4 separate regions of the Homo sapiens genome follow, and all the other regions are linked to region 2. Evidence: promoter capture Hi-C in 16 types of primary human blood cells and fetal thymus (Javierre and others, 2016). All regions are on one chromosome and are shown on one strand. Each heading gives the region's core, a stretch centred on a gene start or on the middle of the fragment in contact. The rest is flanking DNA. Distances are from core to core; before and after follow the strand shown.

What was found. The method cuts DNA at HindIII sites, captures the fragments that hold promoters and counts their contacts. A CHiCAGO score of 5 or more calls a contact.
Region 1: a fragment that was not itself captured here is called in contact with the fragment with the promoter of UBE3D in region 2 in 1 of 17 cell types (naive CD8 T cells); the score reaches 5.1 in naive CD8 T cells.
Region 3: a contact is called between a fragment that was not itself captured here and the fragment with the promoter of UBE3D in region 2, in 1 of 17 cell types (fetal thymus). The highest score is 7.2, in fetal thymus.
Region 4: a contact is called between a fragment that was not itself captured here and the fragment with the promoter of UBE3D in region 2, in 1 of 17 cell types (total B cells). The highest score is 6.2, in total B cells.

Annotation. Positions count from the first base shown.
Region 1 is chr6:85,462,520-85,465,219 of GRCh38, reverse strand. The region is part of intron 1 of NT5E (5'-nucleotidase ecto); the gene reads right to left. Among named protein-coding and RNA genes, the nearest start is that of NT5E, 14 kb to the right of the region's middle. The HindIII fragment of the contact is 2,109 bases long and covers 264-2,372 here.
Region 2 is chr6:83,064,501-83,067,200 of GRCh38, reverse strand. It overlaps UBE3D (ubiquitin protein ligase E3D), which reads left to right and starts at 1,360. Exons shown (of 10, transcript NM_198920.3): 1 at 1,360-1,559. The coding sequence starts at 1,483. The HindIII fragment of the contact is 10,412 bases long and covers 1-1,704 here.
Region 3 is chr6:80,096,503-80,099,202 of GRCh38, reverse strand. No RefSeq gene overlaps it. Among named protein-coding and RNA genes, the nearest start is that of BCKDHB, 8.8 kb to the left of the region's middle. The HindIII fragment of the contact is 927 bases long and covers 869-1,795 here.
Region 4 is chr6:85,445,704-85,448,403 of GRCh38, reverse strand. No RefSeq gene overlaps it. Among named protein-coding and RNA genes, the nearest start is that of NT5E, 3.0 kb to the left of the region's middle. The HindIII fragment of the contact is 2,150 bases long and covers 229-2,378 here.

The DNA of each region.
Region 1 (2,700 bases), core at 69-2,568, 2.4 Mb before region 2:
ACCTCCCCATCCTAACTTGAGCCTAATCCTCCTGAAAGTAGTGACTTTGACTGTCTTTTCACCTCTCTTGCCCCATGGGGAGAGGAGCCCCTTATTCATGGTGCTCAATGTGGTGGGATGGACTGAGTAAATGATCTCATTCCTACTCATACCTTCAACTGTAAACCGAAAATCTCCAGCCCTGACTTTTCTCCTGACGTCTAGATCTGTATGTCAACTGCCATGTGTCATTTCCTCCCAATGTCTCAAAAGTGTCCCAAGCTTACCAGGCTCAAAGCCTCTTCCCTGTGACTCACTGTCTTGGCCCAGGATGCCACCATATACCCAGTCAATAAAGCCAGAAGCCCTGGTGCGGTGGAGTCCCACCCTCTTCCCTCTCCCTCACCATCACGTCCTCTGGCATCCCTCTCCCTTACCTAAATGCTCCAGTTTCCATCCACCTATTGTTGCTGCCTTAGTGTGCTCCTGGACTACCACAGCCTCCTAACTGGGTTTCCAGCTATTCTCATTTCTTTTGCTAAACTATTCTTTATATTGCTGCCAGAAAAACTTTTCTCAAATGCAAACCTGACCTTGGCACTCTCTGCCTTAGGTCTCTACAGAAGCACAGCCTTTATGATAGAAGTAAACACCCTAAGCAGGGTCCAGGGGGCTCTTAGGGATCTGGTTTTGCCTTCCCCTCCAGCCTCATTCCTGACACCCACCCCATAAAGTGTGAGGAAACAAGGCAGGGGTAGCTCCCTCCCAGGCTCCGTCCGCTCCTCAGCAGTGACCCAGGGCACATCTCAGAACCGCAGTTTCCTCTGGAATGGCAGTGAATGAATAAAATAAAAGCAGTTAAGGAAATGAGCCAGTATTGAGTCAGCACTTGCCACATGCCAGCGTCATGGAAAGTGAGTTAGTAAAGAGTACAGAAAATCTGATTTCATGCTGTGAGGGTGGTACTCTTACTGCACTCATTTTACTGATGAGAAAATCTGAGATCTAGAGAAGTTAAATGAACTGTTGAAGATCACACAATTTGTAAGGGGGAGCTGGGACTAGAACCACTTCGGTTTGATTCCAAAGTTCTTAACCTCTGTGCTTGGCTGTATATTTGCATAAAGCCTAGCATACACAAAGCACTAAAAAAAAAAAAAAAAAAAAAAAAAATTCCTAACTACTTGCACAGCAAATGTATCCCTTGCACTACCACAGTGCAAGTAGTTAGTACTACCATGGCAGGGATTCACTGTTGAATGAATAAATGAATGAATGAAAGAATTACTAACAAGTTTCTTTCTTCTATACATAGCTAACTTTTCCACAGAAATTAATGCAGACAAATTCCTTTGTAAATACTTATTTTCTTTAGAAACTTGTATTTTCATTTGACTTCCTTCTACCAGTTTTTCTTCTATTGCACTTACGAGAACTCAGTGATTCCTAAGCTCTTCAGGATCATGCTACTCACCTCAGTACACCAAGTTCCCACCACACCGAGGCATACTGCAGGCACTCAAAAAATCTTGTAAATGCATTGATCTAGTTTATTCGTTTCTATTATTTTTGATTAATAACATGAAAACATCTCAGGAAAAGACTGCCCAAGAGAAGAACATAGAGCAGAGAAATACAGGGGATCATAACAGAGCAGATAATCTTATTCCACCTTTTTTGGTCCTCTCTGAAAGTTCCCATGTAACTTTCCTTATGTGTTCCTGTACATTTTTTGTAGCTAAACTGTTACTTGCCACTTATTGTTTAACCATCAGTTTAGGTATGTGATTTCTATGACCCTAAATCAGATCTTTTTTTTATTTGTATAAATGTATGGGGTACCTAAATCATGTTCTGATGCTCTTTCTCTCTTGTTCTGTTGCTTTCCAAACATTTCATTACTAAGATTGAGCTCATTCATTCACGAACCCTATTCCTTCACTAATTCTATCCCTATGACATCTTGTATATGTTTACTAAAAACACTAAACTTCACCAAATGCACTTTTCTGTAATTTAAGAGAGCAAAGCCCAGCAAAATGATCTTCAGTATCTCCAACAGCAAAATCATAGAAATACAATGTGAGCATCTGGTCCACCCCCAGCTCCTCACCCCCACCACTTTCTTTATGTAGGAGAAAACCTAAAACACTATTTTTAAAAAAAGAATTGATGATCTTATATGAAAGAAACTTTCCACACTCACACAGAACAATTAACAAACTCTCAAAAAAATTGTTTCATTCACAAACAAGTGCCAGTAAGGTATTAGTAGAAATATAAAGGTAACTTGTAAATTAAAACACAGAAATGAAAACAAGAAAACCTGGGCAATTGTCCAGAGAGGGCTACTGGAGTGCCAGGCTGTGAATTGTGAAGCTGCTGGCTAAGCTTTTCACCTGTTTCCAAGCAACTTGGTTTCTCACTTTACAACGAAGACATTGCTTAACTACTTTTTACCAAGTTTGTTTCAAATCCTGACTTCTGAAAAGTTTTAATGGTTCACGCACCAAATCATACCAAAATGGAGCCCATTTAAAAGCAGCAGGTGGAGTGAGTAGTTTTATTAATCATTCAGTAATCATCTGCTGGGCACTGGTGCCAGAGCTCACCTGGTGTCACAGAGAACATAGGGTCAATCTGATGTGTGAACAGACAGACACAGTGGACAGATGGTTAGAGACATGTGTGCAAGGTACAGCTGATACACCAGAGACAGAC
Region 2 (2,700 bases), core at 111-2,610:
AAGTTGTGCTACGGAAGTTGTATATTTCAATATAATGTGTCAATATTTAAGCATTCAATAGCCTCGGGTACTAAAGGTGGAAGATATGAAGAGTTGAAATCATCATCCTTCAAATAGATGAATTATTTGAGACCAAATAATAGTAAACTTTATTTTTTTAAGTGAGTTGTTGCTTCCATCTATAACTTCAAATTATTGTGATAGATATAATAATTTGTGCATCAACATAATAAACTTTAATCACCCCAAATACTGATTTTAGAAAAATTGTCAAGCTATTATCTTAAAATATATGACAGGATTTATTTATTTAGAATTTATTTATGGTTTAGGCTGGGCATGGTGGCTCACACCTGTAATCTCAGCACTTTGGGAGGCCAAGGTGGGCGGATCTACCAAAAACAGAAAAATTAGCCGGGCATGGTGGCGCGTGCGCCTGTAATCCCAGCTACTCGGGAGGCTGAAGCAGGAGAATCGCTTGAACCCAGGAGGCAGAGGTTGCAGTGAGCCGAGATCGCGCCACTGCACTCCAGCCTTGGCGACAGAGCGAGACTCCGAAAAAAAATAAATAAATAAAAGCAGCTCCTTGTTTTTAAGAAGCCCTATTGTAATTCTACCCGGTCTTATATTTTAATAGTTCTTCATTATAAGTATTTACATTATACCAGGTTCTTTACTGTGTCAAACTTTTCAAAACTATCTTCTGGTAGTAAACTTCTCCAACTTCTCTTAGTTTTTACTTTTGTGAAAGTGAATAGTGGAGCTGTACATACGTAATCATTCTCATCTTCCTTTTTTACCCCCTAAAAAATGGTTAGTCCTGATAGACTTCAGCCACACTCTTCTGCATTAGGTAACAAAGAACTTCCTTATATTTTTGCACCTGTTTCAATTTTGGAGCTATCCTGTCTAAGTTGAGAAGCAATGGCAAGTCAATTCTTGAAAATTTTGTCGCTTTAGATAGAGGCTAACAAACGACCCTTGTTCATAAAGAGACCAAGATAAAGTGGGTTTGGGGCCGGGAATTCTGTTCTTGCATCTCCTGGGGACAAAGCCCACCTGTAACACTTGCCTCCATCATCTCCCTCCCTTCGAGCTAGCCAAAGGTGTGAACCCTGGGTCTGATTTTTATGGTCATTTCCAGGGATGCTAACGCGCCAAGTCACGCTCATAAGAAGCAGAGTGGGGCGATAGCTAGCCTCTCGCCGCCCACCTTTCTCAGCACTCTGGGCCAAAGCCTGGTTTTGAAAATGCGCGCCCCGCCCCGGCCTCCGGGGTCACGCGCCTTCTCGGTGGTGCACTCTCCGGCCGGCAGGTGGCGCTGTGAGCTGGTAGGCGGCGCCAGCCCTGCGATCTGGCACAGGCGCCTGCGCCGCAGCGGGGCTGCCGCTGGTTGGTCCGCACGTGGAACCTCTCCTGGTCCTGTTGACCCGGGCCCCTCGGAACCTCCAGCTTGGTCCGGTCTGGGACTGGAAGCCTGCCATGGCGGCTTCTGCGGCGGAGACGCGCGTGTTTCTGGAGGTGCGGGGACAGCTGCAGAGCGCGCTTCTGATCCTGGGGTAAGAACTGGGATTCTAGGCGCAGTGCCCAGCTCGCTTTACTGCTGCCCGGGGGTCGGGGGCTGGTGAGTCTCTCTCTGTACGAGGGATTTTGAGTTTCTTCTTTCCAGTTGCGTAGAGCCTCTCGATCACTCAAAGTGAAGCTTTCCCCTGTAGTCGGCTCCGCCACTCCCACCCCTACTGACAGTGTGGGTATCTTTGGGGAGCTTTTTAGAAATTCAGGGTCTCAGCTCCACACCAGACTTATGGAATCAAAACTTATATTTTAACAAGATTTCCAGGAATCAAATGCACATTAAAATTTGAGGAACAGTGATGTAAAACACTGTTGGCAGTGCCCGGCGTTTCCAACAAAACAATGCAAAAAATGATTTGTCTGTCTCTCTTCGGGATCCTCCTTACTGGATCAGTTCCTATGTGAGCTTCTTGTTTTGTAAATAACCTCGGGTCTTTTCGTCCAAAACTGCTCTTTGCAGAGAAACCACACAATCATTCAATAAACGTGAGTTTAGTGAACCACTAAGACAGGTTGTAGACTTCTTACTGGAGCTCGTTCATTTATTCATATTCTTCCTTCCAGTGAGAACGTCAAACTTGTTATTCGCTACACAAATAACTTTTAGGAAAAATGTTCTCTATTTTGTTTGACAGCAGTTTTAATGATTTGTGGTCCCCTTGTCTATTCCTTTGTGATCGCTGTTTCAAAGAGAGTAAGTTAGAAGTTAAAATCCTGAGAATGGTATTACACGGTGCCACAGGTAGATTGATGCTTAATTTTTTCCTCTTCCCTAAATCTGCCAGATATCTGGTGTGGCAATTTGGAATATGGCGTGAGAACTGAGTTCAAATGCTAGCTTCCTCACGAAATTAGAATAATTTAATCTGAATTTCTTCAATCTTGAAATGGGAATAATAGTACTCTGAATGTATTTCTTTTTCTCTTTCAAAATTTATGAATTTGGACAAATATCTCCAATTCTGGTGCACCTTGTAGAGTAATTAGGAACCCAAACCCTACCAAAATAAAACAAAAACCACACACACACAACAAACCCTCCCTTCCTCTCATGCAGGGGCCTTTCACAGTTCCCTTGGACTACTCTCCTTTGTTTAGGCAAGGTACCCGGGTGGCTCATGCCTG
Region 3 (2,700 bases), core at 83-2,582, 3.0 Mb after region 2:
CTTCCCTAGCCACCTGAAATCAGGCATAGCAATGTGTCTTGATTTGCCAGTCAATGAATTTGACCACAAGTACAGACGGGCATTCTTGGGTGGAAGAATTTAGCACCTGGTAGCCATTTCTCTAGTTCTCTTCCTGTGCCTCATCAGGTAGTAACATTTCAGAAACTAGAGCATCCATAAGCTGTTACTGGAATGACACTACATGGAGAATCACCTGTCCTTCTTCCATACTTGTTTCACCTGGAGCATGACTGAGAAACAATTTAACAGTGTATATTTTTATCTTTTAAAAATAGAACATGGCTTCTAATCACAAACCTACTTTACATGGTGTTCAGCTATTCTAACATATCCTAACTCTTCAGGAAACATTCTCAGTAATATAGTTACTAAAAGTGCATTTTTCTACAACATGATGCATAAATGTAGCTACACATTATTATTGTGGATTTAAACTGTTGTCAACTGTAATTTTAGCTAGTCACAAGTTTTATCTTGCACTTAGGTTTTGGAATCTAAACACTTAAAACTGATGCAACTCTCCTCTACTGAAGAAACACCAAAATCTTTTCTATGCACATTTTAATCTCTTAAAACAACTTGATGACAAGGTCTTGCTACAGTCACTTTACAGATGAGAAAACAGGATCAAAGAGATTAAACTGACTAAGCTGAGTTTAAGCAGTTTAAAGTTTTCCAGTCTGTATTTTTCATATTTCAAAATGTGTGGTCTTATGCTGTGTTTCTCAAATTTATTTCTCAGAGTAATCCCTGAGAAACTTGTTCAAATTTTAGATTCTCTAGGCCCCACGCTGAGAAATTCTTATTCAGTAGGCCTAGGGTAGACTATCTGCATTTCTAATAAGCTTTCCCCCATCCAGTGTCTTTGATACAAATAGTCCACATATCACACAAACCCTATAAACAACAAACAGCCTTTATATACACTGTGTTCTCTGTCCAGAAAAGAACAGCTACCACCTTTCCCCACTCACTCTTTTATTAAGTAGGGTTATTAGGTCACAACTACTGAAATCACTTCTTGCTAACTTACACAGAATTATGATTACTTTTCAAAATACAGGATGGCCCACAAAAATTGAAGAAAAAAAGCAGCCTCAGAAAGAACAGAAACCAGGATGGCCCCAGAGATTCAGGTAACAGGAGTTAATTTAGAAATGTGTGAGAATATTAAAACTCATAGGATGAATTGGCTCCAATGTCTTTATGTGATTCTGCTCAAGATTCAGTTTTTAGGAGAGAGAATCTGACTAGCTTAGATTAGTTCATTACTATCCCTTGACTAAGGAACAGTAGGGTATCCTACTGACCAAGACTATATACAAAGTAAAAAAGATTTCCCAGACATAACTCAAGGGACTGCTACCAACCAAAGGGAGAATTGATGCTTGGAAGCCAAAAAAAGACCTAATGACTATATAGTTATCCTGCCCAGGAAGTACCCATGTGGTCCCTCTAGTCATTAAAAAAAAGAAAAGAAAAAAACCCACTATGAAAGTACTTCCTCTGAATTCTTCAACATAGACTGGAAAATTGCCACTAGAAGACTACTTAAATATACTTAGGAATTTCTGTAGAAAATGGTGGTAAAGTTGAATATTCTTATATCCTCTCTTTTAAAAAGAAAGAGTAAAGGGGAGCAAATTAAACACACACATTTTACATATACAGCATAGTTAGGACAGAGACATCTACAAACTAAAAATTTATGGGAAAATGAAAAATAAACAGACAACATTTGGCTCACACAGGTAGAGGGAGTCTAGAGAAAGCTTTATTTGGAGCAGAAAGATCATCTGAATAGTCCTAAATCTACAAAAGAAGCTAAATTTATACCTTAAAATGTCCCAACAAACAAAACTTCAAGCCCAGATTGCTTCGTTGGTGAATTCTACCAAACATTTAAGTAAGAAATAATGCCAATTATATAAAAAAATCTTCCAATATATAGAAGAGAGGGTAATATTTTCCAACTCATTTTATGATAATATTAACCTAATATTAAAATCAGATAAAGACACTATAAGAAAAGAAAACTACAAATATTCCTCATGAGGATAGATGCAAAAATCTTTAAAAAAGCAAATATAATAAAGCAATATATAAAAATAACAGTATAACAAGGCCAAATGGACATAAGAATTCATAGGAATGTAAGGTTGATTTAACATTTGAAAATCAAGCAATGCAATTCACCATATCAACAGACTGAAAAAGGAAAAAGTAATCATTTTAACAGAGGTAAATGGAAAAAGTAATCATTTTAACAGAGGTAAAAAAAGAACATAGACAATAAAAAGCAGAGATTGTTAAACTGGATGAAAAATCAAGATCCAAATAAATGCTGTCTACAGAAGACACACTTTAGATTCAAATACTTAAACGTAAAAGAATAGAAAGATATATCTTGCAAGCACCAGCCATGAGAAAGGTAGAGAGGCTATACTAATATTAGAAAAAAATAGACTTTAAAACAAAAATACGGTTTCTACAGATAAAGAAGGATACTTTTATGAAGACAAAAGGGTCAATTCATAAGGAAAATATAAGCAATTTTAAACATATATGCACCTAACAACAGAGTACCAACATACACGGAGCAAAAACTGACAGAAATGATGGGAGAAATGGACAATTCTACAACAATGGTTGGAACTACAATAACTCACTTTAATAGTG
Region 4 (2,700 bases), core at 54-2,553, 2.4 Mb before region 2:
CATTGCCTGGTATCTGTGGGTACACGGTATCAACATGACCTATCACTGATCACTGGGGAACTGATCATTTGTTGTTTCTTGTCTTTTAAACCTAAGCCACTGCAATAGTTTCTGAAATTCCTGTTCTGGGGATGCTACCAGATTTCTGCTTCAATATCATTTCCATGCCATTTGTTTTCATATACATCTAAAATGGCCTTTGATTGTTTATTGCACCAAGTTCAAGCTTCGCAAACTGGCATTTTGAAGTCTCATTTTATCCAGCCAACTTTACCTTCCACTGTTCCTCACACATTCCCTTTGTCCTCATTTCTTCTCTCCAAACCACCATTTCCAGTCTGTCCTTAGGCCAAGGCCCGGGGTTCCTTTAATTTCTTGTTCAAGTCAACATGAAGTTCCTTTGACTTCTTCACACAGCAGTGAGTTTTTCTCTTTTCTAAATTTCTGGTCAGTTCCTACAATCTCACTTTAATGTGGTTTTACTTTTTTTCTCCAGGTGTTTAATGTGTGTTTTTGGTCTTCTCCCCAAGCAATGGAAACAGAGTTGCTGCTTCAGTGGTAGTAGTACTTGCAATTCAAGTAACACTAACTTAAAATCTACTTTAGACACAGTGGGCGATAGTATGAAAGAACCAAGAAGGATTTCGGCTGTCCTGGAGCTGATAATGCTGCAAACAAGGTGAGGGTGCATACAGTAAGTAGCTGCAAAGCCATGAGGATCATAGAAAATTTCCCAAGTCCATGAGGAAAGAAAAATATACAGGCAAAAATTTACATACAAATCAGGGCTTTATTTATTGTTTCATCAGTTGATTAGACTTAAGAAAGTAATGAAGAAAATGTCAAAATAATGCAGAATAAACTTAAAAGTGTGTGGTGCTAATATCCATTACATTGGGAATAGCCCCCCAAATTGAGAAAATATTATTTCAGTACATATTAGAAAACTATTTTCTGACTCAGGAAAAATCTCACTCACATCATTGATGAACAATATATCTAGTGCTAAAACTAGGTTTTAATTTAATGACTATAGCCTGTACTACACTCATTATATAATAGGGTGACAAATACTTTAATAATAGATTACATATTACATCCAATAACAATACGTTATTGATTTATTAGAAAATAAATGGGTATATAACTCCATTTGTCAAATCAGTTCAGCCGGAACCATAGGTTGGCTATGGATTGCAAAAGTTCTGCAAAAATCAATGAAAGCAGTCTGTAGGAACCAATAGTAAAATTTACAAATAGTAAATTGTGTGTAACAATCTTTTATATCAGAAAAATTTATAATAAATATGTATGTATATAAATGCATGCGTTTTTCTTTAAGAGTCAGTTGTTGAACATTTACCAGCACACCACTGGAGCTATCTAATGGATAATATATATTTAAGTTTCTTTTGTGATGAGAACCTATTTTATATCTTATCACAAAGTCTTTAATAAAATATCAATTTTTCTTTAAATTTGCTGAGATAGATTTATTTAGGTGGGCTGAATTAAAAATCTGAGACCTGCTTTTAGGTGAATGCGGGGTGAAAACAGGGACCGGCCAGGCGCGGTGGCTCACACCTGTAATCCCAGCACTTCGGGAGGCCGAGGCGGGTGGATGACCTGAAGTCAGGAGTTTGAAACCAGCCTGGCCAATATGGTGAAACCCCATGTCTACTAAAAATACACAAAATTAGCCAGGTGTGGTGGCGGGCGCCTGGAGTCCTAGCTACTTGGGAGGCTGAGGCAGGAGAATCTCTTGAACCCTTGGAGGCAGAGGTTGCAGTGAGCTGAGATCACGCCGTTGCACTCCAGCCTGGGCAACAAGAGCAAAACTCTGTCTCAAAAAAGAAAAAAAAGAAAGAAAACAGAGGGACCTTGTCATAGGCATCCTGGCACATTTGGATTATGCTGTTAAATGACTATTAATATTTCATCTTATTGGTAAGAAAACTTAATGTGATATTTAACCTGGCTGAATAATTTGCTTAAGATCATTCATGTCCAAGTAAGTGGCAGTCAGGTTTTGAGCACAATTGAATTCCAATACTCAGGTTACATTGTTAAGTCTTCACAAAAGCATGAAGGGTAAATATTATTATCTGCTCCCCACCCCCACTTTTTCTGTGGTGAGAACGCTTAAAATCTACTCACATAGTGATTTTCAAGTATGCAATACATTGTTATTAACTATAGTCACCAAATTATACAGTAGATCTCTTGAATCTATTCTTCCTATCTAGCTGAAATTTTATATTCTTTGATCAGCCTCTCCAGTAACCCTTCAGGCAGCCCCTGGTAACCACCATTCTACTCTCCACATTTTTGCTTTATCCATTCATCCATTGATGGACAGTTAGGTGGATTCCAAAGCTTGACTATTGTGATAATGCTGCAATATCATTCTCCTTTTATGGGTAATAAAATGGAGCTTCAACATGTTAAATTAATTGCTCAAAGTTCCACAAGTGGGCAGGATTTTTTTTTGTCTTTTTATATTTGTAACTCTATTTCACATAAAGGCTCTCTGTCCACTCAAAAGGTTTACCTCTTGCTGTCTGCCACCTGTTATGCCCAAGGAGTAGTTCTTGGTCTGGGGACTTCTGAGAAGGCTACAAAAGCTCAGAATCCTTTCTTGCAACTTTGCCGTGATCTCTTTGTGGCCATAGGAGGACCATCAGTCTATATTGGCCTCTT